Regions from separate parts of the Homo sapiens genome. Here region 1 is linked to region 2. The links are contacts of gene promoters, found by promoter capture Hi-C in human tissues and cell types (Jung and others, 2019). All regions are on one chromosome and are shown on one strand. Each heading gives the region's core, a stretch centred on a gene start or on the middle of the fragment in contact. The rest is flanking DNA. Distances are from core to core; before and after follow the strand shown. Region 1 overlaps MBTPS1 (membrane bound transcription factor peptidase, site 1). Region 2 holds the start of KCNG4 (potassium voltage-gated channel modifier subfamily G member 4).

Region 1 (3,137 bases), core at 77-2,576, 140 kb before region 2:
TCACCACAAACAAAAATAAGATTTACGCACATACATTATAACATATACTATATTGTATCTAATCTAAAATCTGGCAAAAGAAAAATTATCTTAAAGCCCACAGCAGACGAGAGAAAACACAAAGACTAGTTTAAGTACCTAGACAGCTGTCTGCAGAGCTTTGAGGAAAAATGATCTATATGGGGCTGGGCGCGGTGGCTCACGCCTGTAATCCCAGCACTTTGGGAGGCTGACGTGGGCAGATTACGAGGTGAGGAGTTTGAGACCAGCCTGGCCAACATAGTGAAACCCCATCTCTACTAAAAATACAAAAAATTAGCTGGGTGTGGTGGTGGGCGCCTATAATCCTGGGAGGCTAAGGCAGGAGAATCACTTGAACCTGGGAGGCGGAGATTGCAGTAAGCAGAGATTGCACCACTGCACTCCTGCCTGGTGACAGAGCAAGCCTCCGTCTCAAAAAAAAAAAAAAAAAGATCTCTATGAATCACCTAACCACAAAGAATACATCATTCGAAACCAGATACCCGTGATATTTTTTTAAAAAGCAAATACCTACAGAAGTTTGAATACACAACAAAGAAATGTATATAATTTTTATCAAGTAGGAAAAAGAAATTCAGAGAACTGAATGCTCAGTTAGTGTTTCTTAAAACGAAAACAGTAACAAAATTCCAGAGTGGATTATGTGAGACTATTTGCTCAGTTCTTCACATCTGGTCACTCAAACTTTAGAACATAAACATTCTGCACCTCCCAGCTCCCCACCTTCACCAATTACAATGGCACCTGTTCCAAAGAATCAAGGTGTAGGCTGGGCACAGTGGCTCATGCCTATAATCCCAGCATTCTGGGAGGTCGAAGTGGATGGATTGCTTGAGCTCAGGAGTTTAAGACCAGCCTGGGCAACATGGTGAAACAAAAAATAAAAAAATTAGCTGGGCAGGCCGGGCACAGTGGCTCATGCCTGTAATCCCAACACTTTGGGAGGCCAATGCAGGAGGATCACCTGAGGTCAAGAGTGCAAGACCAGCCTGACCAACATGGAGAAACGCAGTCTCTACTAAAAAGACAAAATTAGCCGGGCATGGTGGCACATGCCTGTAATCCCAGCTACTCGGGAGGCTGAGGCAGGAGAATCGCTTGAACCTGGGAGGTGGAGGTTGCGGTGAGCTGAGATGGTGCCATTGCACTCCAGCCTGGGCAACAAGAGTGAATCTCCATCTCAAAAAAGAAAAAAGAAAAAACAAAAATAAAAAAATTAGCTGGGCACGGTGGCAGGTGCCTGTAGTCCCAGCTACTCAGGAGGCTGAAGTGGGAGACCACTTGTGCCTGGGAGGCCAAGGCTGCAATGAGCTGAGATGGCACCACTGCACTCCAGCCTGGGCGACAAGAGCAAAACTCTGTCTCCAAAAGAAAAAGAAAAGAAGGTGTAGGTAAATAATTCATGTCAATTTCCTTTTATCATATAAGCTTACTCTACTGGGAAAACAAACTTAAGCAAAGTTAACATTCATGTGCTGTGCACTCAACCCATTGGAAATTTACTACAGAAGGCCAGGCACGGTGGCTCATGCCTGTAATCCCAGCACTTTGGGAGGCCAAGGAGGGTGATCACTTGAGGTCAGGAGTTCAAGACCAGCCTGGCTAACATGCTGAAACCCCGTCTCTACTAAAAATACAAAAAAAAAAAAAAAAAAAGGCCTGGCACGATAGTTCATGCCTGTAGTCCCAACACTCTGGGAGGCCAAGGCAGGCGGATCACGAGGTCAGGAGCTCGAGACCAGCCTGGCCAATGTGGTGAAACCCCATCTCTACTAAAAATAGAAAAAATTAACTGGGAGTTGTGGCGGGTGCCTGTAGTCCCAGCTGCTCAGGAGGCTGAGGCAGGAGAACTGCTTGAACCTGGGAGGTGGAAGTTGCAGTGAACCGAGATCGTGCCATTGCACTCCAGCCTCAGCAACAGAGTGAGACTCCATCTCAAAAACAAAACAAAACAAAACAGAACAAATCAAAACAAAAAATTAGCCAGGGACGGTGGCAGTCACCTATAATCCCAGCTACTTGGGAGGCTGAGGCATGAGAATTGCTTGAATCCAGGAGGTGGAGGTTACAGTGAGCCGAGATCATGCCACTGCACTCCAGCCTGGGTGACAGAGTGAGACTCTGTCTCAAAAAAAAAAAAAAGAAAGAAATTTACTGTAGAAAAGAGGAACATGTTATTCAGCAATAGCTAATTTTATATTAAGTAAGCTTTAAAAAAATAGGATGGGAGTTCCTAATACTTAAGACAACATCATTACCATATTCCACAACTGTTGATGAGAATTCCACCTTCAAAGTCAGGTGGGAACAGCCAGGGCATGGGGCCTTTTCAAAAGATTTCTTTTCCAGTCTGTCGCCCAGATGTTTCTTCCCACAGAGCAAAACCACGAGCAGAAGCAGCCAGATGTTGACAAGCTTCATGGTCACAAGCGAATATGATCATAAAATTGCATATATTCAAATCACACTTTTTTCTTCTTGATTAAAAGTGAATTTTTGTTTCAGCTAAAAGCTGCAACATTACTAATCAGCCATCTTACAGTCTTGCCCAACATAAATAAAAGTTAAATCCCATGGCCTTTTGTGGTTCAGCCTGAAGAGAGGCTTTCATTTCTTTCTCCGCTTCTTCTCCATCTTGGAAATAAGGCTTCTCTCACTCAGGCCGTGACGACTGAGTCCTGTACTCCATTTGTACCACAGAACCAACGTCCAATGGGGTTGATCAATCAACCACTGTGAGCCAATCTATGAAACAAAAAACAGTGCACACAGACATTAGTAGCAAACTGACATAGCCAGGTATGATTTAGTTGTATTTATAATTTAAGCAAGTGGGTCAGCCAGGCAAGGTGGCAGGTGCCTGTAGATCAGCTGCTTGGGAGGCTGAGGTGGGAAGATCACTTGAGCCCAGGAGTCTGAGTCCAGCCTGAGCAACAAAGTGAGACCCTATGTCTAAAATAATAAAATAATAAAATAAATAAGAGGGTAAAAGAGATATCCTGGTTTTAAGACAAATTAATGTGCCATACAACCATGAAACATATTATTTCATTTTTATTTACTTATTACTCACTGCTTTCACGGGAAAATTTTTT
Region 2 (2,814 bases), core at 87-2,586:
CAGCCTGGCCAATGAAACCCTGTATCTACTAAAAATACAAAAATTAGCTAGGCAAGGTGGCATGTACCTGTAGTCCCAGCTACTCGGGAGGCTGAGGCAGGAGAATCGCTTGAACCCGGGAGGCGGAGGCTGCAGTAAGCCGAGATTGCGCCATTGCACTCCAGCCTGGACAACAGAGCGAGACTCCATCTCAAAAAGAAAAAAACAAAAAAAAATGACGGGGCCTCTAATGCTGTCTCCATTTCAGACCTATATGAGGTGCTTGACTTAGTGTGAGTGTTTTAGATTTAGCCACTTCACATATTTAAAAAGTCCTTTTCATAATATTTCTCACCTTCAGATCCTGCAACCATTTCTTATGCTATTCATTCTAGCCAAAGCCATTTCCAAAGCATCTATAAGCTTACATTTTCAGATGCACTCCACTCCAATCAAGAGAAAAACTCGGCAGTGGAACGGAAATCAAAGTTCCTCTCAATTTCAGAGCCGGTTGGATTCCGGTGGATAGTGGAGAGTGAATCGTAACCTATTTCACACTCTTGCTCCCTACACAACATTCTGTTGCTCTGAATGCATTACTTTGCTCACAGGGAATGGCCAGAGGAGGATGAGGAGCCTGCAGAGAGAAGAGTATTTTGAAATCTGGGGAGCCCTTTGCAAGCTTCCTCATTTTCCCAGTGCAAAAACCAAGACCCAGCGAGCGGAAGTAACTTGTCCAAGGTCACACAGCAAATCCGAATCCAACCCAGCACTCTGTCCCCCAGCCTGGGGCTCCTTCCAGAACCTGAAAACTGCCCTTTCTGCATTCACTGAATAAACCCAATTTTGCCATCTACGGCTCTCCAAACAGCTGGCAAACAGCTCCTTCTGGAGCACGGGAAAGGAATTCACTCAAACCAGCACTTTTGCCAAGGATGTCTAACAGCGTCAACTTCCCCCTGGCCCCCGCCCACCCTACAGCAAGCAGTAACTCTTCCCCTCCAGTTTAACTCACCTTCTTGTCTCAGGGAGCCAGTTTCCAGCTGTTTCTCTGCCAGGCAAGGGGAGCCCATCTCTTGGTGCCCAGGGAAGGGACAGGTTTCTGGTGGAGATGAAGGGGAAGAAAAAAATCCCCAAAACAGCAGTTTCTAGCAGAGTCAGTTTCCAATCTTTCTTCCCGTGCCTCCTCCAGAAACCAGAAGTTCATTCATTCTGCATCTCTCTCTCCAGCAGCTGCAGGAGAGCCCTGGGGGATTGAGGTGGGATTTTTTTTTTTTTTTAAAGGACCCAGAAGTCCCTTTCCTTATGAGAGATGAGGGTCTGGGGGTTCTTGCTGGGAGGGAGCCAGGGCAGCTGTCCTGGTTGAGCAGCGGACTCTGCACTTCAAGTCCCACGGGGACAGCCAGTGTGGGGGGGTGTGGAATGGGAAGGGCTTAGAAATAATCTCTCCATCAGCCAGCAGCAGGAAGAAGCAGCAGCCGCTGCCACTCTGCCAACCGCCTAGGAGGCAAGGGGAGCTGTCCTCCCTCCTCTGGCATGGAGGAGCACAACTCGGGAGGAGCAGAGGGCAACTTGGGGCCGGAGGCATCTGCAGCTACCTGTCCCAGGCACCCCAGAGTCTCTCGGGGTATGCTGATGATGGTGACAGGCTCAAGTTGAAGCTGCAGGAGGAACTTTTTGCTGCTTTTAAGCAGCCCAGGCCTGGGACAGGTTCAGACAGAAGCCCAGGCTCTGAGCGCTGGGTGGGAGTCAGGGGGGCTGTGTTACAGAACAGCAATAGGAAGAGCTCCGAGCTTGGAATTCACACACATGCCTGGATCCTGGCTCCTATGTGAAAGGCTGGGTGACCTTGGCCAGGTGAGTTAGTGCTTCTGAGCCTCAATTGTCTTGTCTCTAAAACATGGGAATGAGAGAGGGTTCAGGGAAGGTCAGAACCATAAGTGCAAGCTCCTGTGCTGGTTGGATGGTTGGGTGGGTGAAAAGGAAGAGGCATCAGTCCAGGGCCTGGGTGTGAACTTGGACTCTGCACTGCCTGGCTGTGTGTTCTTGGTCAGTCACTTCCCCTCTCTGGGCCTTGGGTTTCTCAGTCAAATGAGGACAGTGAAACCAGCGATGGCTGCAATTGTAAAACCAGCATCTTGTAGTTGCTCACTACACGTTGACTGTTCTTCACTTTCTTAAGAGGTTTTGCAGCCCAGGCTCTTGGCTTCTGAATGTGTTATCTTCACTGCATTTGATAGTTGAGGCCCTGAGAAGAGGCTTGCTCAAGGTCATCTTGCTGGTTAGAACCATCACTTAGGCCGGGTGTGGTGGCTCACAGCTGTCATCCCAGAACTTTGGAGGCGGAGGCGGGCAGATCACAAGGTCAGGAGTTTGAGACCAGCCTGGCCAACGTACTGAAACCCTGTCTCTACTAAAAATACAAAAATTAGCTGGGCATGGTGGCGGGTGCCTGTAATCCCAGCTACTCGGGAGGCTGAGGCAGGAGAATTGCTTGAATCCGGGAGGCGGAGGTTGCAGTGAGCTGAGGTCGCGCCACTACACTCCAGCCTGGGTGACAAAGTGAGACTCTGTCTCAAAAAAAAAAAAAAAAAAAAAGAACCATCACTTAACAGACGCTTGAGTTTTGATGGGAGGATCCAGGAGTGAGGGAGATTAGAGGGTGAGCCTTCCACAGCTGCCTGCAAGGGGATGACAGGTGCTGCTGACCTAGGTGGGCTCTCTGTGGCCTTGGCAATGGGAACGAATCCAAGCAGAGAAGAGAACTGACTGAATGGAGGTCCATCTGGTATTGCGGTTTTCAAATGGTATTGCTTGAAGCCTTAGGGCTCTGCA

Evidence for each region. The method cuts DNA at HindIII sites, captures the fragments that hold promoters and counts their contacts. A contact is called where the count stands out against the background at its distance.
Region 1: a contact is called between a fragment that was not itself captured here and the fragment with the promoter of KCNG4 in region 2, in 5 of the 25 tissues and cell types used here (IMR-90 fibroblasts, aorta, bladder and 2 more).

What each region holds. Positions count from the first base shown.
Region 1 is chr16:84,099,321-84,102,457 of GRCh38, forward strand. MBTPS1 (membrane bound transcription factor peptidase, site 1) reads right to left here. Exons shown (of 23, transcript NM_003791.4): 2 at 2,301-2,787. The coding sequence starts at 2,463. Among named protein-coding and RNA genes, the nearest start is that of MBTPS1, 16 kb to the right of the region's middle. The HindIII fragment of the contact is 3,194 bases long and covers 1-2,923 here.
Region 2 is chr16:84,238,676-84,241,489 of GRCh38, forward strand. KCNG4 (potassium voltage-gated channel modifier subfamily G member 4) reads right to left here and starts at 1,337. Exons shown (of 3, transcript NM_172347.3): 1 at 995-1,337. The HindIII fragment of the contact is 8,358 bases long and covers 1-2,814 here.